Regions from separate parts of the Homo sapiens genome. Here all the other regions are linked to region 1. Evidence: promoter capture Hi-C in 16 types of primary human blood cells and fetal thymus (Javierre and others, 2016). All regions are on one chromosome and are shown on one strand. The core of a region is centred on a gene start or on the middle of the fragment in contact, and the rest is flanking DNA. Distances in the headings are between cores, read along the strand shown.

What was found. Contacts are between HindIII fragments. The CHiCAGO score rates a contact against its expected background, and 5 or more counts as called.
Region 2: a contact is called between a fragment that was not itself captured here and the fragment with the promoter of ZRANB2 in region 1, in 6 of 17 cell types (total CD4 T cells, naive CD8 T cells, total CD8 T cells and 3 more). The highest score is 18.2, in total CD4 T cells.
Region 3: a contact is called between a fragment that was not itself captured here and the fragment with the promoter of ZRANB2 in region 1, in 1 of 17 cell types (activated CD4 T cells). The highest score is 6.2, in activated CD4 T cells.
Region 4: a fragment that was not itself captured here is called in contact with the fragment with the promoter of ZRANB2 in region 1 in 1 of 17 cell types (non-activated CD4 T cells); the score reaches 6.0 in non-activated CD4 T cells.
Region 5: a fragment that was not itself captured here is called in contact with the fragment with the promoter of ZRANB2 in region 1 in 4 of 17 cell types (activated CD4 T cells, naive CD4 T cells, non-activated CD4 T cells and 1 more); the score reaches 8.9 in activated CD4 T cells.
Region 6: a contact is called between a fragment that was not itself captured here and the fragment with the promoter of ZRANB2 in region 1, in 7 of 17 cell types (total CD8 T cells, total CD4 T cells, naive CD8 T cells and 4 more). The highest score is 23.2, in total CD8 T cells.
Region 7: a contact is called between a fragment that was not itself captured here and the fragment with the promoter of ZRANB2 in region 1, in 5 of 17 cell types (non-activated CD4 T cells, total CD8 T cells, naive CD8 T cells and 2 more). The highest score is 20.4, in non-activated CD4 T cells.

Annotation. Positions count from the first base shown.
Region 1 is chr1:71,079,474-71,082,840 of GRCh38, reverse strand. ZRANB2 (zinc finger RANBP2-type containing 2) reads left to right here and starts at 1,806. Exons shown (of 10, transcript NM_203350.3): 1 at 1,806-1,901. The coding sequence starts at 1,846. ZRANB2-DT (ZRANB2 divergent transcript) reads right to left here and starts at 1,517. Exons shown (of 4, transcript NR_046217.1): 1 at 1,428-1,517. RefSeq lists an enhancer at 1,567-1,856. The HindIII fragment of the contact is 3,322 bases long and covers 1-1,951 here.
Region 2 is chr1:62,431,852-62,435,218 of GRCh38, reverse strand. No RefSeq gene overlaps it. Among named protein-coding and RNA genes, the nearest start is that of USP1, 3.5 kb to the left of the region's middle. The HindIII fragment of the contact is 3,951 bases long and covers 1-3,367 here.
Region 3 is chr1:63,327,626-63,330,992 of GRCh38, reverse strand. No RefSeq gene overlaps it. Among named protein-coding and RNA genes, the nearest start is that of MIR6068, 2.3 kb to the right of the region's middle. RefSeq lists an enhancer at 1-809. The HindIII fragment of the contact is 4,446 bases long and covers 1-3,367 here.
Region 4 is chr1:77,993,197-77,996,563 of GRCh38, reverse strand. It overlaps a transcript of DNAJB4 not described here. Among named protein-coding and RNA genes, the nearest start is that of DNAJB4, 10 kb to the left of the region's middle. The HindIII fragment of the contact is 2,170 bases long and covers 525-2,694 here.
Region 5 is chr1:77,969,981-77,973,347 of GRCh38, reverse strand. FUBP1 (far upstream element binding protein 1) reads left to right here. Exons shown (of 20, transcript NM_003902.5): 2 at 3,333-3,367. Among named protein-coding and RNA genes, the nearest start is that of FUBP1, 7.4 kb to the left of the region's middle. The HindIII fragment of the contact is 4,235 bases long and covers 1-3,367 here.
Region 6 is chr1:77,951,532-77,954,898 of GRCh38, reverse strand. All of the region lies in intron 18 of FUBP1 (far upstream element binding protein 1), which reads left to right. Among named protein-coding and RNA genes, the nearest start is that of FUBP1, 26 kb to the left of the region's middle. The HindIII fragment of the contact is 3,252 bases long and covers 237-3,367 here.
Region 7 is chr1:77,783,629-77,786,995 of GRCh38, reverse strand. The region is part of intron 2 of MIGA1 (mitoguardin 1); the gene reads right to left. Among named protein-coding and RNA genes, the nearest start is that of MIGA1, 5.7 kb to the right of the region's middle. The HindIII fragment of the contact is 3,599 bases long and covers 11-3,367 here.

The sequences.
Region 1 (3,367 bases), core at 557-3,056:
CTTGCAAGGGAAAATATAATCAACACCTGCTAACTCCTAGATGACCAAAATGTTATAATACAGATTTTAAAGCAACAATCATAACTAGAGAGTAGTTGAACAATTTCTCTCCTAAACATAATCATACTTGCATAAAGACATTTCAGTCAATGATGAACCACATATACAAAGGTGGTCCCATAAGATTACAATACCATATTTTTACTGTACCTTTATATTTAGATACACAAATACCACTGCGTTACAACTGCCTACAGTATTTAGTACAATAAGATGTACTAAATGCAGGTTTGTAGTCTAGGAGCAATAGGCTATACCATATAGCCTAGGTGTGTAGTAGGCTATACCTGCTAGGCCTGTGTAAGCACATTCTATGATGTTCACACAACAGCACAATTGCCGAAAGTGGCATTTCTCAGAACATATCCCTATCATTAAGTGAGGCATGACTGTATATGCTGTATTCTAAAAAAAATTAATGCATTTATATACCAGAATCTATGCATAAGAATGCTCATACTGGTGTTGTTTGTAATACCAAGCCTGAGAAACAGAAGGAATAAACTGTCACAAAACCACAAAACGGAATAGTATCAGTATACATCAGTGCAAATAAAAGAATTACACCTATACACTTCTACATGCAACTACCTAGGATTAATTTAGAAGCATAATGAACAAAAAAAGAGTACAGAATCAACTATGCTTACACAGCTCATAAAATTAAACATACATGTATGTTAGGTTTTGAAGGGAAGGCAAGGATTAAAGAAAGAGAGGGTGGCTTAACAACAAATACAGGATTTATGTCCAGCATAAGACCTACAGAGGTGGGAGACCAGCTTAATGCCAGTGCCCGTTGCTTCTTACAGGCTGGGGTGATTTATAGGCCTGGGTGGGAGTGGTCTGGGGGGCCATGGCCTGCTTCCTGGGAACATGTTGATAAGGTGTTCCCAGGACGAGGCGGCTCTGGCCCTTGTTCCAGTGGAATGTGGTACTTTCTCCCAGCAGAGTATAAGAGGCAGCCTGTTTCTCACGCCCGAACCCCGTGGAATGTTTCACTTTGACTAAGGTCTGCAAAATGGCAGGGGGGCTTACAAAAATGGTGCAGTTTGGACTAACAACGTACATAAATTTTTAAAAAGCAAAAGAATAAATCCCAAATATGGGAAAGTGTTATCTGTGGAAGAAAGTAATGGGATGGTATCAGAAAAGACACTGGTAATTTAAACAGTGTTGACAATGTCTCAGTTTTAAAATTACCAGCTGGTTCCCATGTATAAGTTGCTTACTTATCTGTTACACCTATTTATGTATATATAAAAATAGGTTTCCAAACGACATCCCATGTGTATGAAATAACAGAATTTTTATGCCTTATTAAAATAATTTCTCTAAACACTTGAAGAGCCCGAGCCGCCTCTTACCCTAAACGAACCCCACGCCCCTGAATTGATCAGTCACTTCCGCCTCCACCTTTCCAGCTCCACCTAAGGAAGCGGAAGTACTTTACTCTTGGGTCCTCCCACCTGTAGGGGGCTCTCCGAGGCTTCTAGTGCCACGAAGGCCTCCTGCCTGGGTTGTCCTTATGGCGCCTGTGAGTTTAGTTCTAGAAAAGATATTTGTATTTTAACTTTTCCATCTAACAAACAGTAGCACAGGCATCTTAGTCTGGACAACAACGTACAAGCTGAATTCCTGGCTAGTTCCCTCATTATCAAACCCTGACACAGTAGTAGGCGCGAGTCAGGCAGTGTGGGGACAGCCCCGAGTTGCCGAAAGTCCCCGGCCCGTTTTCCTCCTGTGAAGACATAGCTGCGGGTGGCTGTGCTGGTGGCGTTCAAGATGTCGACCAAGAATTTCCGAGTCAGTGACGGGGACTGGATTTGCCCTGACAAAAAGTGAGTTCAAGAAGGGTCCTGAATTGGGACGGAGTTTGTTAGTGGAAGCTTTCCGAGGTCCGTCCGGCATTTTCCTTTTTTATGATTTTCTGTGCCTTAAGACGGGTTGAGGCGGCGAACCGCCAGTTCCCTGGCGGGAAGAAGGCTCCCAATCTCCTCACGAGAGAGGTCTTTCCGGGAGCCTTTGTTCTAGATATGTCTTCAGCGTTTCCTCGACATTACCTCCGCAAGGTAGCCTCTCTTTTTAGAGTGCGAGATGGCCTACCTTTTTGCCCCCACCCCCCTCCCCCGCCCCGGCCAGGTTTTAGCGATAGGAAACCTCTCCAGTCAGGCCAGCTTGGTGTTGGATCTCCCCCACGTGACTTTTCTCTGCAGAACTTTACTCTTGTTCACGGAAAATATTGCTTTCTCGCACTCGTCCTTTTGCCTCTTATAGTTCACCTTGTTTTGTATTTTTACTCAAACTTTTCCTCCATACTATTTTCCCCTTTTCCGGAAGCTCTACCCTCTTCGGTTTGGGAAATTCTGACATTTTCTTTGTGGATCATTTCTCCACAAGAATTGGGCTTTTCGCCTCCTTAGAGCCGAAAAGGAGGGAAGAGGCCTGTGTTTTTGCCTACTCAGCCCTTAAGATGCCTGCAGCAGAGAAGCACGTGTGTTAGTGGCTCTGCTTTTTGACATTGTTGCCAAAGCCAGTACTCGACTAGATAGTTAATCAGATTTTTTTTGAAGGGTGCACAAATAGGTGTATCTATTCGGAAATAACATGGAAAATAATTTAATGTACAACTCATGTTCACATAAAAGCCTTTTATTTGTTGTACCTAAGTTAGCCACAAATAGGTTTTGATTGTAAAAAGCAAAAACTTTGAAATAAACCTGGGTTTAGTTAAAATTCTATTACTTATTTAACTGCTAAAAAAGGAATAGAATTTTTTTTTTAATGAAAACATGAAATAACATGGATAGGGTGTGTAAACAGTGACGTGTAGCAAATTCTAATTGGTGGCTATTGATAGTAATTTGATATTAAGATGACCTGAAGGAGTAGTTCAAGCCTAACAAATGATACTGAATAGAACCAAAGTTATATGTTATGGATAGTATTGCTCTGAGTGGTAAGACATTATTGAAAACGTTCAAAAGATTTAGAACAACAACTTCTGACTTTGTTGTTACCTGTAAAATAATGTGCTTTTGTCAGTGTCTTTAATGACAGCACACCCAGAGGTAGGACTCTCAATGAGAGTTCATTTCAACTCATTTACAAATATATGAATAGAATGTTGTTTGTACAATATGTTTAAATGCAGGATAAATTTTCAGAGTATATTTTCCATGCTTAATGGAGTTAAAAGGAATATTTTTAGGGGAAAAACTTAACCTAAATATTATTTAGAGTGTTTCACTTTAGTGTCATCCCATACTTCACATCTGTATTGTATTCTAGTATAATGCCTTAAAAA
Region 2 (3,367 bases), core at 366-2,865, 8.6 Mb after region 1:
ATCCCAGCTACTCCGGAGGCTGAGGCAGGAGAATCGCTTGAACCCAGGAGGCGGAGGTTGCGGTGAGCCGAGATCGCCTCACTGCACTCCAGCCTGGGCAACCAGAGCAAAACTCTGTCTCAAAAAAAGAAAAGTACCAGCGGAAAGGTCAGCCAAGATGCTGGTTCAATAAGCCAAGGAATAAATTATGGTAGTCTGGAATAAGATGGTGGGATGTTGAAAACTGGTAGGGTTCAAGATATATTTTGAGCACAGCCAACGAGCTCTACTGATGGATTGGCTGTATGATAATGTAAGAAAAAACAGGTCGGGTAGCCAGGGCCGGTGGACCGCTTGAACCCAGGAGTTCAAGATCAGCCTGGGCAACATGGCAAGACCCATCGCTACAAAAAACTCCAAAAATTGGCCGTGCGTGGTGGCACGTGCCTGTAGTCCCAGCCACTCGGGAGGATGAGGGAGGAGGATCCCCTGGCTGCAGTGAGCCGAGATGCACCACTGCACTCCAGCCTGGGCAACAGTGTGAGGCCCTGCCCTCCACCCTCCCACCCGAAAAAAGAAAAAAAAACAAAGAGTAACGATTTTTTTTTTAACCTGAGCAACTCAGTGTTGGTCCTTGCTAAAATGGGGGTCTTAGTAGGCTCAATGGGAAGGATCATCGTTCTTAGAATATTAAGATTGAGGTGTTTAACGTACAAACAGATGTTGAACCAGCAGATCACGAAATACACAAGGACAAGATTAGAAAATGTATATAGGTCAGTCTTAGCCATTGTGCACCACAGAGTGGCAGTGTCTCATTTTCTAGTACTAGCATAATTATTGCTACTTTCAAACTCTACGAGAACAGATAAGCAATTCTACTTTCCCATATTCCTGAGATCCTATTGTCTGCAGCCACTATTCTTCCTGTACACAATGTGTGGTATCAGTTAAGATTCATTTGCGGAAAATAGAATCCATTTTAGCTAGTATAAACACAAAGATATTGAATACTTGGGAGGGTTGATTAAATAGGCTCTAGATTAGTTTTTCAGGAATGAGTCCCAAAGTCTTCCCAGAACCAGGCCACCAAGGAAGCAATGACTCTTCTATGATCAGGAAATGACGTCTCTGAATCACACTGCTGCTGCCATGCCTAGGAAACCACCATCAGAAAGCTGCGTGCACCGCTGACCCTAGAACCACACTATACCCACTATGATCTGCACCAGTGCCATGCATATCCTACGTCCCGTCTGTCAAGGCCCACAGGACAAGTGGCTAGACACTGAGGTTTCTGCTAATGCTGCTTCAGAAAAATCAAACACCTCCACAACTGTGCTTGTCAACAGCAATAGCAGAAGTTTGGTGTGTCTCTGGCAATATGATTAATGTAAAAATTTAATATGCTTCTCATTCTTTTGCTTTCAGTCAGTTGTTTGTGGGAGAAATTCTAGCCACAGTTCTTGCCTAGATGAGTTTTTAAGCCCCGAAACTTTTTTCCCAGTTTCTGTGTGCTCCCCAGTTACCCCACTCTTAATGACAGCTAATCCCTTTGGAAACAATGGGATTTAATAGGTTCACAGCATTCTCAATCCTATATTTGTCAGTCTTGTGTGGGTAAATGCCAGGCATATTTCCTTCCAAAGTTTCACAGGCACTGTTTCTGTGTACAGTCATCCCTTGGTATCCATGGGGGATTGGTTCCAGGACCGTTATGGATATCAAAATCCGAGGATGCTCAAGTCCCATATATAAAATGGCATAGTATTTGCATACAACTTATGCACATCCCACCTATACTTTAAATCATCTCTAGATTACTTAATTACCTAATACAATGCCTACACATCATTCACATGGATTTAACATAGTATTTAACACTTGGCACGTGGCAAATTCAAGTTTTGCTTTTTGGAACTTTGTGTACCTTTTTCATAAGATTTTTTGATCTGTGGTTGGTTGAATCCATGTATATGGAACCCATGAATGTGGAGGGCCAACTGTACTTCAGTCTAAAGGTATAGAAGAAGTGTGGTTTTTTTCCGCCCTTTAAATCTTCAAATTATGAAACTTTTATTTTTATTTTTTTGAGATGGAGTCTTGCTCTGTCCCCCAGGCTGGAGTGCAATGGCATGATCTTGGCTCACTGCAACCTCCACCTCCTGGGTTCAAGCAATTCTCCTGCCTCAGCCTCCCAAGTAGCTGGGATTACTGGTGCCTGCCACGACGCCCAGCTAATTTTTGTATTTTTAATAGAGACGGGGTTTCACAGTGTTGGCCAGGCTAGTCTCGAACTCCTGACCTCGTGATCCGCCTCGGCCTCCCAAAGTGCTGAGATTACAGGCATGAACCACCACGTCCCGCCCAAATTATGAGACTTTTAATCCACTTGGATTACAGCAGAATTTCTCCTTTAGCAAAACTGTATTCTTTTCCATTTCTACATGCAAATTGGTTACTTCTGGCCTGAATTCATATCTCATAGAACTTGGTTTAAAGTGTCAAGAAAAAGCCAGCAAATACCAAGTTTATAGATATTTCCAGCCATTTCCCTTCGTGCCACAATTTTGATTGGCGTGTGATCTGTCTTCTAAAGCTGGCAACAGGTTTACCAAATGTCTGGCAACTGGAGAACAAAGGTCACCAGTTTTCCATCTTGCAGTATCTGAGTCTTTACCACCCACTGCCCAAATGCTTCCACTAAAAACCACATTTCTTTTAAGGTTATGTGTAGCACAAATTTATAGGAACCAAACTCTGCATCCGATAGGAATAGGTTTGTTTATAAGTAACAGAATATTTTTAAGTGTCCTTAGCTAAAATTAATATTCATGTCTTTATCATGTATACATAATGCAGAAGTAGGCAGTCTAGATTAGTATGGTGGTTCTGTGACCATCAGGGACCTAATTAATTTCTTCCATTCTCAACATGTGGCTTCTACCTTTCGGTCCTTTATAGCTGTTTAAATTCCAGCCATCATGTCTACAGTCCTATGCAGGAAAGAAAAAAGGACAGAGATGACCATGGTCCCCTCTCTTTAAGGATACTTCCTGGAAGCTGTACACACCATTCCTACTTATAGCCCATTGGCCAGAACTTAGTCATTTGACAACATTATTCTGGGTGGCTATATACCCAACTAAAAATCAGGGGTTATAATATTAAGGAAGAAGGATAGAATGGATATTAGAGGACAAATAGCATTCTCTGCTATGCCTCCCTTACCAGGTTAAAAAAAAATCCCCAGCTGGTGAAGATATCCCCAAAAGATGAAAAATGGAAAAGTACTGTACAGCTTTTGGTTCCTTGAAAAGAGAATATGCTGGGTATCTGTTTGCCCTTGTGGTAGATATGGAGATGAGCTGCCCAGATCCCCCTTCAA
Region 3 (3,367 bases), core at 294-2,793, 7.8 Mb after region 1:
ATTCATTATAAAGAAGGAAAGAAATGGGAAGAAAACAGTTCCCCAAACTCTTGAGAAAGACTTGATTTGATAAGTTAACAGCCTTCAAGATCCCCTATCCCCGCTCCCGTGGTGCGAAGCTGTTATTCATCAGACAAATAATTTAGATCGTCCCCTTTGTGCTCAGCAATGCTAGACGGTCAGGAACTCACCAGGAACTCAGAGGGCAACACTAATGACAATGGCTCATTAATTGGCACGGTGAGCTTCAAGAAGGAGCAACTGGTCTGGGCAGGGAGGCTCAGGAAGGCTTCGCGGAGGAGACGCTGCATCCCAGGGGTACCTCGAGAGCAAACAGAACATTTGGAGTTTAGGGTTGTTCTGGGGCTGACAAGAGAGCTCCCTGTGAACCTAGGCATGCGCCCCTTGCAGAAAGGGGTAACGGGCTTTTTTGGAGAAAATTGAGTCTTGCTTACTATCTGTTGAGAGGAAAGTGGGAGGGATGCAGGGAGGAAAAGAACCAAAGCTCTCCCCTTCAATAAGACGTGCACCGCAGCTCCGGTCCCTGGACCCCGGGAAGGAGCATGGCAAACGCGGAGTCCGCAGAGGCGGAAGCGGCGGGGCCGGGGATGGCGGAGAGTGTGCTTCTCGCTGCCGGTTCGCGGCCTGGGGTGGGGGGCACTCCAGTCCATCCCCCAGCCCGGATGGGTCGCCGGGGTCCTCGTGCTAGGGCTGTGGCTTAATTAAACCGTGGTAAACTTGCCCCTATTTCCCCCAGAGATCCCAGGCTGGGTCCTCTCGGCCTCCCAGGTTCACTCTGAGGGGATTTATTTTCCGTCGCGAGCCTCCCATGAGCGGGCAACTGAGTAGCCGCGGGACGGGGACGGGAGCAGAGGTCCCACCGCGCGCCCCGCTGCACGCCCAGCTCCGCGGCGGGTGCCTTTCACACCTGGGTTTCCTTCGTAATTAATTCGTATTCTCTTCTCCCTTCCCTCCCTCCAGGCAGGGGCAGCTGGAGTCCCGCAGGCCGAGCCCTCGAGGTTGGCACGGGGGTGATCTCGGCGTGGGCAGGGGGTTGGGGGCTCCCTTGGGGACCGATCCCCGACACGACAGCACTGTGGTTGGGCCGCTGGGCGAGGGGAGCTTCGGGCCTGCAGTTGCCGCCTTCTTTCTTCCCTCCCACATCACGAGGCAAGAAGGAAATGGGGCCGTCGGTCCCCGCAGAACCACTCATCGCCGGGCTAGAGGCGCCCAGGCAGCGGGGAGCCCCAGGGTCCAGGTCCACAGCCTTCCCGGAGCTGAGTTCCACCGGCCCGGCGCGTCTGTGTCTGTCTTTCCCTTCTCCTCTCAACCCTCCCCAATCTTCCTTGCCCCAGAGTCTGCTGTTTTTGTTTCCTCAAGTGGCGCCTTCTTGCTGGGTAAAGCACACTTTTTCCTCCTCCGAGTACTTCCATAGCTTGCACTTGGGCTGCTGAGTGACCCTGGGTAAGTCCCAGAACCTTCTGGGTGGGCCTGTGTGAAAAGAGGGCCTCCAGGGTGACCCCGGAGGCCACTTCTAATGCCGATATTCTAGGACTGTTTTTCTGAAGACGGGTTCGGAATTCAGCACCAGAGGACTCAGGCAAGAGAGTGAAGGTGTCCCTCTTCTTCCCCGCCTCACCCCTGATGGGATGGAGCTGTGTGCAAAAGCACAAATGATCTGGAGAAGAGCCTTAGGTAGCAGTTTTATGTTAAAATGGGGGAGGGGACCAATTTAATTCTGCATTTAGGAAAATTCTAATATATGACGGCACTTCGGGAAATAAAAATGAGATGGTTATGCTTTCTTACAGACACCCTGGCTAGTTTTACATTTCTTTTCAAATTTTGTTTTGTGTACCCCAGGGAGCAAAGAATGGCTTGTACATTCCTCAGAGGGCAAGGAGGGGGAGTGGCGAAGAGAGAAGTTGGCTCTGGGTGTAACTCTGCCAACTGTTGGAGGGCAGCAAGGGGAGGGTGGTCTTTTAAGTGAGTTTGGGATCTGGTTACCTTTAATTCGCCTCCCAGGCCGCATCTTGCACTAATGGGAGTCTGTCAGCGGTGGACTCAGATTTCCCCACTTGCCTCGGATAGTGGAAGCATAGGGGCAAACAGCAGAGTAGGCCGCTCTGCCAGAGAGAAGAGAGACGTATGCCCTGCCCCTGGAGCTGGGGGTGCAGGCTGAAGGATGGGTGGGCACCGAGAGCTTCTCCGCAGGCATAGTGAAAGGCCTACAGACCAGGAGGAAGCTCCACCTTTTAAAAGCCTCTTCTGGGGTGGGAGTTTCCTGGGATGGGTTCTGCAACCCCTCTTAGAAAAATCCACCTTTCATACCTAAAATCAAATGGTTCAGAACCGAGCCAATGTATTTGGCCGTGTACCAGTGCTTAGAACAGAGTTGTTTCTTCGTGCAGAAGCCATTAAAAAACACACTGTACACGCCCCCAGCACTTTACAGTTTATAAGACATTTTTCACTGACACCAACTCACCTAATTCTGTAAGCCCAGGTGACAGGCAGACTCATTCTCACTGTAGGGTCGAGGAAATGCAGTCATTGAAAGAAACCAAGCAGCTTGTCCAAAGTCACAGTTAGGAAATGCCTAATCCCTGTTGGAACGCCTTCTGCAAGGCCTTTCTCATCCCGCTTCTTCCTGTCGCCTCCTCCCTTGAAACAGACGGCTCCCCACAAGGTTCAGCCTGGCACTTTCAGAATGCCCTTCCAACCTCCTCCCTTCACTACTTTATTCTGCAGCTTGTACCACCGGGGACACAGGTGGAGTCCGGGGACACAAGGCTCTGGAACCCACTTTCTTTCAGATCACATACCCCTCAGGACAGTTTCTCAAGGGACTCACGTTAAAAATACCCACCTCTCACACACTCATGTCAGCCTTTCATGTTCTCACTACCAAGACTCACCCTATAAACCATGTGAAATAAATAACCTCAAATATAACTCTTAATTGCTTCCAAGTCAATGTTTCCTCATCACTAAACTTTATTGCCTCCCAATCTTTAGGACAAACTCCCCTCGGGACTCTGTTCCTCCCAGGACACAGGCGGGGGAAAGGAGGAAATCAGCTTCTCGAGATTCGACCTAGGCTTCCGGGGCCTGAGAATAAGCAAGGATGTCAGGAGGCTCAGAGCCTGGGAGGGAAGGAGAGGCGTCCGGGGCTGGGGCTGGACCATTCCAGACAAACCGCGAAGTTTTCCGTCTGCTCGTCGCCCCCTACAGGCCACATCTGCCATCGCATCGACAGCCCTCAACAGCCGGCACATGTTTTGCTCTACTCTTCATTCGCCTTTCCCCGGACATCCAGATCCACCCCTCCGAGGAACTAGATACGGGCGGTCCCAACTCAGACCTT
Region 4 (3,367 bases), core at 360-2,859, 6.9 Mb before region 1:
ACCTACCTTTCAAAAAACAAGAAAATAAAATTGCTTTAAATGTATAGAAATTACTAGATTTGGAGACACCCAGGGGATCAGACATATTTTATACTTAAAAAAATAAATCAGCCAGGTGCAGTAGCTTACACCTGTAATCCCAGCACTTTAGAAGCACGAGGTGAGAGGATCACTTGAGCCCAGGAGTTTGAGACTAGCCTGGGTAACAAAGTGAGAATTCCATCCCTACAAAAAATTTACAAATCAGCCAGGCATGGTGGCATGTGCCTGTAGTCCCAGCTACTCAGGAGGCTCAGGCAGGGGGATGGCTTGGGTCCAGGAGGTCAAGGCTGCAGGTGAGCCGTGATCATGCCACTGTATTCAAACCTGAGTGACACAATAAGACCCTGTATCCAAAAAATATATATATCATTTCCTTTTTTGGGGAGTATAGAACTAACTTATTCTAACTGGGATGAATAAAATATTCAAGCAACAACTAGCCCTTCTTTGTTACCCTCTTTTACAATAAGTCCTTGAAAGCTTGCTAATGACTAGTGAATGTATGGCGAGCTAATATACTTTTCTGGCATTTTGAAATAATTTAAAGAGTTCTTTTTTTGTTTTGTTTTGTTTTTTGAGACAGAATCTCACTCTGTTGCCCAGGCTGGAGTGCAATGGCACAGTCTGGGCTCACTGTAACCTCCGCCTCCCGGGTTCAAGTGATTCTCCTATTTCAGCCTCCCAAGTAGCTGGGACTACAGGCATGTGCCACCACACCCAGCTAATTTAAAATAAAGTGTTCTTTACACTGATTTTAAACACTGAGTTAGGCCCAGGGTGATAGCTCACACTTGTAATCCCAGTACTTTAGGAAGCCAAGGCAAAAGGATCACTTGAGTCTAGGAGTTCAAGACCAGCTGAGCAACATAGTGAGACCTCGTATCTACAAAAAATAAAACAGATTAGCCAGATGTAGTGGCATGCACCTGTAGTCCTAGCTACTTGGGAGGCTGAGGCAGGAGGATCACTTGAGCCCAGGGAGATGAGGCTGCAATAAGCCATGATCACGACACCACTGCACTTCAAGCCTGGGCAACAGAGCAAGACTGTCTCAAAACCAAAAACACTGTATTAGCCAAAAAATTTTAAAAAGAGCTAGAGTTTCTACATCATTTTAAATGGGTCTTGATAAACTAATATTTCATTATAACATTTTGCCTGTGTTGAAAGATCACACTATTTAGACCAGTGCTGTCCAACAGAAATATAAAGCAAGCTACAAATGCAAGCCACATTTCCAGAAACCATATTTTTTTAAAGTAAAAACAAACGTGAAATTAATTTTAATAATGTATTTTATTTAACCTAGTAAATCCAAAATATTATCATTGCAGCATATAATCAAAATACAAATTATCAATGAAATACTTTACATTCTTTATTTTTTGTACTAAATATTTGAAATACAGCATGTATTTTACACTTTGACCTCAATTCAGATAGGTACATTTCAGTAGCTTAAGAGTCTCATGTGGCTAGTGGCTACTGTGTTGGACAGTGCAGATCTAGTGGTTCCTTCTAGTCGGCAGTACTATAATCCAATTTTTCAGAAATCTCAGCCTGTGAATCTCAGCCCAAGTATACCACACATACATACCTCTCACATGCACATTTAGGGTAAATAAAGTCTTAACAGGTGAACTCTATTTTACTTATAAAATAGTACTACATTGTTCATCCATATAAACAATATGATAATTTTTTTCAAAATAATACTTTACACTTAAGGTAGTAGGAATGTATTTACACATGCTCAGTTGACATACACTTTCACAATGTTTAATTGTAAAAGCAACACTTGGAAATGAGGAATCTACGTGATTTTCACTTTTATCTTTTCTAAAATGTCTCTTCTCATACTCTTTTCTTATATGTGGCCTGAGATGTCATCTTAATTGGCTCATTAGAAAAATGAGAGTAGTTAAAAAAAAAAAAAAAGAGAGAGAGTAGTTTAAGGAGTACACAGAAAAAAAATGTCTGTAGCCCAAGAGGAGGAGAGGATATGCAGCTGTTTCATTGAATTATTAGGCTCTTAGCCAAGACTGCAACAAACTGATTATTTAGCAAGTTTGTTTAGCTAATTGTTTACAATTCTCAAATAATTTTTTTCTTTTTTTTTTTTTTTTGAGACAGTCTTGCTCTGTCACCCAGGCTAGAGTGCAGTGGTTTCATTATGGCTCACTGCAGTCTCAGCCTCCGGGGCTCAAGTAGTCCTCCCAACTCAGCCTCCCAAATAGCTGGGACTACAGGCATGTGCCACCATGTCTAGCTATTTTTTCTTTTGTAGAGATAGGGTCTCCCTATTTTGCTTAGGCTAGTCTTGAACTCCTGGGCTCAAGCTATCTTCCCACCTCCGCCTCCCAAAGTGCTAGGATTACAGGTGTGAGCCATTGTGCCTGGCCTCTCAAATGATTTAATTTAAATCAGTACCAAACTTTAACTATGAATTAACTTTATCGTATACTGCATCCATTAAAACATAATCACGAAACCACTGCTACCATGGAGACTTAACTATGATTCGAAGACTTTAATAATGGCTACCAAATATAAGTATTAGAACATTTATATAAATAAGCCCGTATGTCCTATAGTATTTACCAACTACTATAAAATTCAGCCATTGACTACCTAATTCCAAATGCATAAGCTTGAACTATTATAATTGTCTAAAGAAGGATATTTAGAGAAAAATATATCTCTAAAATAAATTAACTGTAAATGGATGGGTTTTAATGTTCAAGTTATTAATATTTCAAAAATATAAACTTTTTGTTATCTAGGTCAAATCAGCATATCAAGCCAACCATTACTGAGACCCCACTGTGCTATACTGTTACATGTAACATGAAGGATAAAACAGTATAATACATAGTCCCTACCCTTAAGGAGTTTATACTATAAATAAGTCAGGCACGGTGGCTCATGCCTATATCCCAGCACCTTAGAAGGCCAAGGAGGGCGGATCAATTGAGGTCAGGAGTTCGAGACCAGCCTGGCCAACGTGGTGAAACCCTATCTCTACTAAAAATACAAAAAAATTAGCCAGATGTGGTGGCACACACTTGTAGTCCCAGCTACTTGGGAGGCTGAGGCAGGAGAATTGTTTAAACCCGGGAGGTGGAGGTTCAGTGAGCCAAGATTGTTCCACTGCACTCCAGCCTGGGTGACAGAGCGAGACTCGATCTCAAAAAAGAAAAAAAATAAAAGAAAAAGGAGTTTATACTATAACTATATAAAGTAATACCTAATGTCTATTGTTGCTTTTGCCAGACAGCGGTAGAGTTGAGTAGCTGCAGCAGAGACTGTATGGCCCACAAGGCCT
Region 5 (3,367 bases), core at 636-3,135, 6.9 Mb before region 1:
CTTGAACTTGGGGGGCGGACATTGCAGTGAGCCCAGATCACGCCACTGCACTCTAGTCTGGGTAACATCTTGAGACTCCATCTCAAATAATAATAATAATTAAATAAAGTAAAAAGTTTCCCACACCTCATAAATGTCTAATAAAAATTGAATATGTTGAGTTCAAGTACTCTGAAAAAGGAGTTGAATATAGTTGGAGGTTGGTTTTTAGGAATTACTATTTTTCTTAAATTAACTATCCTTGTAGTCACCTAGGAATTGTGTATTTTCTATAGATCTTAGAAAATTATCAAATCTACAGTTCATTTTGTTTTTTCAGTTTTTTTTTTTTTTTTAAGAGATGGAGTCTTGCTGTATTAGCGTTGAACTCCTGGCCTCAGCCAGTTCTCCCATCTCAGCTTCTGAAGTAGCTGGGGCTGCAGGTGCCACTGAGCCTGGCTTCTTTATTGGTATTTTTATTAAACACTTTTCTCTAATGTCTTTGTAACAGTTCTCAGTTTTTGAAATGCTGTTACTGTTTCTTTAGTGTGAACTGTCAACTTTCATTTTTTCTTTTCTTTTCTTTTCTTTTCTTTTTTTCTTTTTTGAGACAGAGTCTCGCTCTGTCACCCAGACTGGAGTGCAGTGGTGCGATCTTGGCTCACTGCGACCTCTGCCTCCCGGGTTCAAGTGATTCTCCTGCCTGAGCCTCCCGAGTAGCTGGAATTACAGGTGCGCACCACTGTGCCTGGCTAATTTTTTTTTTTTTTTTTTGTATTTTTAGTAGAGGTGGTGTTTCACCATGTCAGTCAGGCTGGTCTTGAACTCCTGAACTCATGATCCCCCCCGCCCTGCCTCGGCCTCCCAAAGTGCTGGGATTACAGGCATGAGCCACCACGCCTGGCCTCAGCTTTCATTTTCATTTGGTTAGTTTTTGAACTATTCAGTGGGTAAAGTTGTATAAATAAGTGTCTTTTCTCTGTATAGAAGTGTCTTGGAGTTCAAGGAGTGCTGCTTTGCAAACTCATAGAGTATTTATAAAAGCTAACTGCAGAAGGTATTCATAGGCTAAACCGTTTCCTATTCTTGGTAGCACCATTTTCTCTGGCCTGAAATACTTTCCTTCTACTATTAGTGCCTGTCGATACCCAGCAGTGTATTTACTTTCCTGAGGAACAATTCAAATGCTAAGTGCTTTAAGACCTAAGGGTGGAAAAGCAGTGTTTTCAGGCATTATTAGGAAAATAAGATTTAAATTAGACACCCAGAAACAAAAACAGGTTTGTAATTGGTAAAGTGAAAGATGGTTAAAGAAGGTTAGATTGACCAAAGCGAGAATTTACCTTTTTTTTTTTTTTTTTTTTGAGACAGAGTCTCATGCCGTTGCCCAGGCTGGAGTGCAGTGGCGTGATCTTGGCTCACCGTAACCTCCACTTCCTGGGTTCAAGCAGTTCTCCCACCTGAGCCTCCCGAGTAGCTGGGTGACATGCGCCACCACGCTCAGCTAATTTCTTTGTATTTTTAGTAGAGACTGGGTTTCTCCATGTTGGTCAGGCTGGTCTCGAACTCCTGACCTCAGTGATCTGCCCGCCTTGGCCTCCCAAAATGCTGGGATTACAGGCATGAGCCACTGTGTCCGGCTGAGAGTGTACCTTTTTTTTTTTTTATCAAGCAATCTAGTACTTGATCCTAATAATCTTTGTGGTAGGTGTTTGCATTTTTAGATGAGGAAAAGGGAAATCTATGAGTCCTAGGAAATACAGTTGGTATATGGGAACTGATATGTAATTAGACTTAAGTGATCCATGTTGAATTTATGACTTAAGCACTTAACTATAATCTTAACCTCTCCAGTTGTCTGATGAAGTTAGTATATGGGAACTGATACATAGACTTAAGTGATCCATGTTGAATTTATGACTTCAGCACTTAACTATAATTTTACCCTCTCCAGTTGTCTGATGATAATAAAAACTTGAAGCAGTTATCCATATGGGGATCTCTTTGGGGAATCCCAGTCACCAAAAGTTAGGTTTTCTTTAATATTTTTTCATGGAAGATTTCAAATATACTCAAAATTGAAAGAATTATATAATAAATTCTCATGAGCCCATCACACATCAATAATGAATGTACAGCATTGCAGTGTGGAGCTTGGCCTATTGCTGACCACTCAGCAATGTGGCAGAACCACTCCATGATTCCCCATGGAAATGGGAACTACTTCGGTTGTCCTTTTATAGAAAAATTCAGTAAGTATCTGCTGATTGTGCCCTACTTGTGACTTGAAGCCAGGTTTTTTTTTTTGTTTTTTATTTTTTTTGTTTTGTTTTGTTTGTAACAGTCTTGCTCTGTCATCCAAGAGGGGCATGATATTGGTGCACTGCAACCTCCACCTCCTGGGTTCAAGTGATTCTCGTGCCTCAGCCTCCCGAGTAGCTGGGACTATGGGCGTGCACCACCACACCTGGCTAATTTTTGTATTTAGTAGAGATGGAGTTTCATCATGTTGCCCAGGCTGCTCTCGAACTCCTGAGCTCAAGCAATCTACCCACCTCCACCTCCCAAAGTGCTAAGATTACAGGCATGAGCCACCATGACAGCAAAGCTGGGTATTTCTTAAATTGGTTCAGTCAGGTGCAATAAATTATTTGCCCTACTCTAAAATTTAAAAATCTTCTAAGAATTATGGTTTTGCAGCTGAGGTTTTTTTAAGACTCGAGCTCCCTGGACTCCTACATATATCCTTAGAACAACATTGTCCAATAGAAGTACAATGTGAGCCACATGTTTTGTTTAACCCAGCATATCCAAAATATTACCCCCTTTGCATGTGCTTAATATAAAAATTTAAGATGATTTATATTCCAGGTTTTCAATATTCAGTGAGTAATTTTACACTTAGAGCAAGTATCATTTCAGACTAGTCACATTTTGAGTACTCAATAACCACATATGGCTAGTGGCTACCTTACTAGATAGCATAGCCTTTGAGTCCCACAAAGTGTTCACATTCTATGTGTTTACACACATCTTTTGAAGTGTCATGACAGAGCCAGATAGGATCCAGATTTTCTTTAAATCTGGTCTCTCTTCCGGATTCCTAGTTGATTACTTCTTTGTTGCTTCTTATAGGGATGTATCAGAAGTTTAATAATCTTATGATTATTATGTTAACTGCCTGAAGTATTAATGGTAGCAATAAATTGAACTATAATTTTAATTTTTCAAGTAAATTTTCTTATGTGATACTAAATATTTCACATATACATGTATCAGGAAGTAAATGGGGGTAATTTAGTAATGAATAGTATATAATAGTTTATGATGGTATTTTTCTTTTTTTTTTTTAGATTGCAGCAAAAATTGGAGGTGATGCAGGGACATC
Region 6 (3,367 bases), core at 613-3,112, 6.9 Mb before region 1:
AGGTAAGAAGTAATCTGCAGTGACGGAAAGTAACCAAGTGATGGAACCAGAATCTGGCTTCCAAGAGGGTCTGAGTCCCAAGCTTGTCTCCCAAATTTGTCTCTTTAGGAACCATTTGGAACCTGATACTATACTTCTGGACAAATCACTATATTTCAGCTGCTTTTGCTCTTAGTCATTTAAAATTATTACATACCACAGCTAGATGTCACAAATGAAAGCTAAATTGGTAAGCTTGGTTATCCTTCACTAGCAGAAAAAGAACCTATAGGTGGTAGAGTTTTGTCATAAGAGAACGGTCTACTTGGGATTTTCAATGTTTTCTTTGCCAAAGAATGTTTCTCATTCTCCACAGAAAGAAAAATTTCCAGAAAGGTGATGATTTTAATCTTCTAGATGTAAAATTACATATACCTGATGATAAAGTTGTTTTGCACAACTGGTTTCTTTTTAAAGAAAAATTGTTTTTCCTCTTAGAATGGCTTCCTAGGAGAGTCATGTTCCGTCTCTTTCTGAGGCTTTAACAGATTATGTTTTTGTGACCTAGCTTAGGCAGATCTACAGTAGCTACAATTCGGCAAAAAGAAACTTTTAACTTAAAAACAGCATACTCTGATTAAGGTTGGTTACATAATTTATTTTCTGAACTGGGATCCTTTTTAGAATGAATAGGGATGCTATTAATAATCATGCCCTGACAGCATTGTGGTCAGGACCTGTAATCAACTTAACTTTAATTAAATAGCATCACCATTTTAAAAGACTTGAGCATGAGCCACGTGCGGTGGCACACACTTGTAGTCCCAGCTGCTTGGGAGGCTAAGGTGGAAGGATTCCTTGAACACAGGAGATTGAGGCCAGCCTTGGCATCATAGTGAGACCTGGTCACGTGTTTGGGTTAAAAATCACTAACTTCAACTTCTATTTTCTCAATGGGTAATGTCCCCTAGATAGGGTCCCTAGTTATTATTAAGTAGGTAAAAATAAAGGCTTGTTAATGGATTTAGGTAATTATGGAGGAATGAGTTTGGCTTCTGTGCTTTATTTTACCATATTGATTATTTGTAATATGGCCATTAATACATTTACTGTTTAGTCTTTTTTGTTTTACTTTTTATGTTTTACTCAAAATGAGTGGGTGGGTGGAATTCTAATTTTTATTGTTAAGGGAAGACATTTTACCTTGTCTTTAATTTTTTATTTTTTTTTACCATTTCCCTGCCAGTTAGAGATACTATACTATACTGTCTTGAATCCTCTGTAGGAAAACATGGCATAGAAATAATTAAATAATAATTAGATGTTAAATAATAATGCTGTATGACTAAAGAACCTCCTTACCCCACCTTTTCTGTTGTTGTTCTGTAGTACCACAATAATCACTTGTTAATTTTATTTATTTATTTATTTGAGAGGGAGTCTCACTCTCGCCCAGGCTGGAGTGCGGTGGCGCAATCTCAGCTCACTGCAACCTCCGCCTCCCAGGTTCAAGCGATTCTCCGGCCTCATACTCCCAAGTAGCTGGGATTACAGGCGCCTGCTACCACATCCGGCTGATTTTTTGTATATTTAGTAGATACGGGCTTTCATCATGTTGGCCAAGCTGGTCTCAAACTCCTGACCTCAGGTGATCCACCTGCCTCAGCCTTCCAAAGTGTTGGGATTATGGGTGTGAGCCACTGCACCCAGCCTCACCTGTTAATTTTATGAGCAAAACAGATTAGTTGGGCAAGTCCTTCACATGCATATCTCGTTGTTGTTGTTTTTTTTAAGACGGAGTCTTGGTCTTACTCCCCAAGCAATGGTGCGATTTCGTCTCAGTGCAACCTCTGCTTCCTGGGTTCAAGCTATTCTCCTGCCTCAACTTCCCAAGTAGCTGGGATTACAGGCGCCCAACCACACCCAGCTAATTTTTGTATTTTTAGTAGAGACAGAGTTTCACCATGTTGGCCAGGCTGGTCTCGAACTCCTGACCTCAGGTGATCCACCCGCCTCAGCCTCGCAAAGTGTTGGGATTACAGGTGTGAGCCACTGCGCCTGGCCACATGTGTATATCTTAAAGGAAATAATGCTAGGTAATTTAGTCAGGTGCTTGATGAGCATTTGTCATCATCATACGGAGTCAATTTGTCTTTTTCTATAAAAGTTCTTTTTGTAAATGATTAGTTGCTTAACTGCTTTAATTTCTTCTAGGTACCTTACCTGTCATCAGGATCTTTTTACCACAAATAAGAAACCTTAAAGCATAAAACTTGGTTCAGTCTTCACATTTCTTAAATGGAAGGAGAAAGGGAATAATAGGGAGATATCTTTATCTCAAAGCCAACTGTTGTTGACTTTTCCAGTGGCAGGGGTATGATGCTAGGACTTCAGATTTCCTGATTCCCCATCCTAGTGCCCCTTTTGCCAAACTAGGCAGGCTTTCACAGCTTTTGGAGCCTAATTTAAGTTTTTCTTGTTAAGAACAGAAAACTCCATTCATAGATTTTAATTTGTCATTATTTGCTTATTTACTGAAAAAAAAAAAAAACTATTGAAAACAGGTGTGGGTTAAGTTTCCCAAAATTAGGTTTATATTTCAAAACAATTCTAAGTTCCCAAGGATAACACCAAACTAAGAGGATAAATTTTTATTTTATTTTTTTTTATTTTATTTTTTTGAGATGGAGCCTTTCCCTGTCGCCCAGGCTGAAGTGCAGTGGCATGATCTCGGCTCACTTGCAGCATCCACCTCCCAGGTTGAAGCAATTCTTCTGCCTCAGCCTCCCAAGTAGAGAAAATCTTGATAAGATTTCAGAGGCTTATAAGGAACAGCAGTAAAGATGGGTGTTTTTAAAGCTAGAATACAGGGATTTTTTTAAGACCCTTAAGAGAACAAACAGGGTTTCAAAATAGAAAGGAGTAATTCTTGTTTGGAGAAGTGAAGACATTTGGGAAAAGTTTGACTTGAGGAAGGCCATTATGATAAGGACTGATGTGGTAGACTCTGAACCCTGAAGAATCTGGTACCTTAAGCCTAAAGGAGGGTAGAGTGAGGACTTGTGGGAAAGGTACAGTTATATGGGAAGACAACTGAGTGTGAAAATCTATTCATGCAAGGCTGGCTCTTAGGCTCTAATAGAATCTTGCAAGCTAACTCTAGAGCAAGTCTTTTATCTTTGGGATGAAAGAAATTTAAGGCTAAACTTTATACATTATAATTATAAAACTATAATAAATATTAGATAATGTTCTACTGAAGTATAAACTCAACTATCTGGCATCAAACAGTAACTAAGCCATGATCACACCACTGCCACTGTGTTCTGGCCTAGGTGACAGAGCAAGACCCTGTCTCAAAACAAAATCCAGTAACTAAAGAGAGGAA
Region 7 (3,367 bases), core at 561-3,060, 6.7 Mb before region 1:
CAATAAAGCTTTCTTTTGTAAATTGCCCAGTCTCAGGTATGTCTTTATCAGCAGCATGAAAATGGACTAATACAGTAAATTGGTACCAGTAGAGTGGGGTGCTGCTGAAAAGATACCCAAAAATGTGGATGTGACTTTGGAACGGGATAACAGGCAGAGGTTCAAATAGTTTGGAGGGCTCAGAAGAAGAGAGGAAAATGTGGGAAAGTTTGGAACTTCCTAGAGTCTTGTTGAATGGCTTTGCTCAAAATGCTGATAGTGATATGAATAATAAAGTGAGGCTGAGGTGGTCTCAGATGGAGATGAGGAACTCATTGGGAACTGGCACAAAGGTGACTCTTACTATATTTTAGCAAAGAGACTGGTGGCATTTTGCCCCTGACCTAGAAATCTGTGAAACATTGAACTTGAGAGAGATGATTTAGGGTATCTAGCAGAAGAAACCTCTAAGCAGCAAAGCATTCAAGAGGTGACTTGGGTGCTGTTAAAGGCATTCAGTTTTATAAGGGATGCAGAGCACAAAAGTTTGGAAAATTTGCAACCTGACAATGCCATAGAAAAGAAAATTCCATTTTCTGAGAAGTTCAAGCAGGCTGCAGAAATTTGCATAAGTAAAGAGAAGCCAAATGTTAATCCCCAAGATAATGGGGAAAATGTCTCCAGGGCATGTCAGAGGTCTTCACGGCAGCCCCTCCCATCACCAGCCAGGAGGCCTAGGAGGAAAAAGTGGTTTCAGGGGCCAGGCCCAGTGTCCCCGTGCTGTGTGCAGCCTAGGGACTTGGTGCCCTGCATCCCAGCCACTCTAGCCATGGTTGAAAGGGGCCACCATAGAGCTTGGGCTGTGGCTTCAGAGGGTGCAAGCCACAAGCCTTAGCAACTTCCACATGGTGTTGAGGCTGCCAGTGCACAGAAATCAAGAATTGGAGTTTGGGAACCTCCACCTAGATTTCAGAAGATGTATGGAAATGCCTGGATGCCCAGGCAGAAGTTTGCTGCAGGGGTGGGCCCTCATGGAGAACCTCTGCTAGGGCAGTACAGAAGGGAAACATGGAGTCGGAGGCCCCACACAGAGTCCCTACTGGGGCACCGCCTAGTGCAGCTGTGAGAAGAGGGCCACCGTCCTCCAGACCCCAGAATGATAGATCCACCAACAGCTTGCACCATACACCTGGGAAAGCCACAGACATTCAATGCCAGCCCATAAAAGCAGCCGGGAGGGAGGCTGTACCCTGCAAAGCCACAAGGGCAGAGCTACCTACGACCATGGGAACCCACCTCTTGCATCAGCATGACCTGGATGTGAGACATGGAGTCAAAAGAGATCATTTTGGAACTTTAATATTTGACTGCCCTGGCCGGGTGCAGTGGCTCACACCTGTAATCCCAGTACTTTGGGAGGCCAAGGCAGGCAGATCACCTGAGGTCAGCAGTTCAAGACCAGCCTGACCAACATGGAGAAACCCCATCTCTACTAAAAATACAAAACTAGCCAGGCGTGGTGGCACATGTCTGTAATCCCAGCTACTCAGGAGGCTGAGGCAGGAGAATCGCTTGAACTCGGGAGGCAGAGGTTGCGGTGAGCCAAGATTGTACCATTGCACTTCAGCCTGGGCAACAAGAGCCAAACTCCCTCTCAAAAAAAAAAAAAAATTTTTGACTGCCCTGCTGGATTTCAAACTTGCATGGGGCCTGTAGCTCCTTTGTTTTGGCCAATTTTTCCCATTCGGAATAGCCATATTTACCCAATGCCCATACCCCCATTCTATCTAGGAAGTAACTAATTTGCTTTTGATTTTACAGGCTTATAGGTGGAAGGGACTTGCCTTGTCTCAGATGAGACTTTGGACTGTGGACTTTTGAGTTAATGCTGAAATGAGTCAAGACTTTGAGGGACTGTTGGGAAGGCATGATTGCTTCTGAAATGTGAGGACATGAGATTTGGGAGGGGCCAGGAGCAGAATGATATGGTTTGGCTGTGTCCCCACCCAAATCTCATCTTGAATTCCCACGTGTTGTGGGAGGGACCCAATGGTAGGTAACTGAATCATGGGGACAAGTCCTTCCCTTGCTGTTCTCATGATAATGAGTAAGTGTCACAATATCTGACAGTTTCAAAAATGGGAGTTTTTTTGCACAAGCTCTTGTCTGCCGCCATATGAGATGTGATTTTCACCTTCCACCATGATTGTGAGACCTCCCCAGCCATGTGGAACTGTGAGTCCAATAAACGTCTTTCTTTTGTAAATTGCCCAGTCTTGGGTATATCTTTATCAGCAGCATGAAAACGGACTAATATAACCTCATACCTATTAGGATGGCTACTATCAATGAAATAGAAAATAACAAGCATTGATGAGGATGTGGAAAAACTGTGCACTATGTGGAAAAACTGTGCACTATTGGTAGAAACGTAAAGTGGTACAGCTACTGTGAAAAACAGTATGGCAGTTCCTCAAAAAATTAAAAATAGGGCTGGGTGAACCAGCTGACACCTATAATCCCAGTACTTTAGGAGGTCAAAGTGAGAGGATGATTTGAGGCCAGGAGTTCAAGACCAGCCTGGTCAACATGCTGAGACTCTGTCTCTTCAAAAAATTTAAAAACTGGTGGAGAGATGGTGGCACATGCCTGTAGTCCCAGCTACTTGAGAGGCTGAAGTGGGAGGATTGCTTGACCCCAGGAGTTTGAGGCTGCAGTGAGCTATGATCTTGCCACTGTACTCCAAAGCAAGACCCTGCCTCTAAAAAATAATAATAAATAAATAAATACATAAATAAATAAATTTAATTAAAAGTAGAATTACTGTATGATCCAGCAATTTCACTTGACACAAAATAATTAAAAGCAGGATCTCAAAGAGATATTTGTATGTCCATGTTTATAGCAGCATTATTCACAATAGCAAAAACATGGACGCAATCCAATGTCCATCAACAAACACACACATAAGCAAAATGTAGTATATCCACACAACGAAATATTATTCTACCTTAAAAAGAAAGGAAATGCTGACATATGCTACAACATGGATGAACCTTGAGGACATTATGCTAAGTAAAGTGAGCTAGTCACAAAAAAATTCTGTAGGGTTCTACTTGTGAGGTACCTGGTCGAATTCATACAGACAGGAAACAGAATGGTGGTGGGGAATGACGGGAAGGAGGTACAGTAAGATGTTGATAAACAGTTGTAGAGTTTGAGTTTTGCAAGATGAAAAAAATTCTGGATATTGTTTGTACAACAATGTGAATGTACTTAAGGCTAATGAACTATACACTTAAAAATGATCAAAATGGTCAATTTTATGTTATTTGTACCTTACCACAATAAAATTTAAAGGATTGTTAATAGTGAGAACAGGCCTACT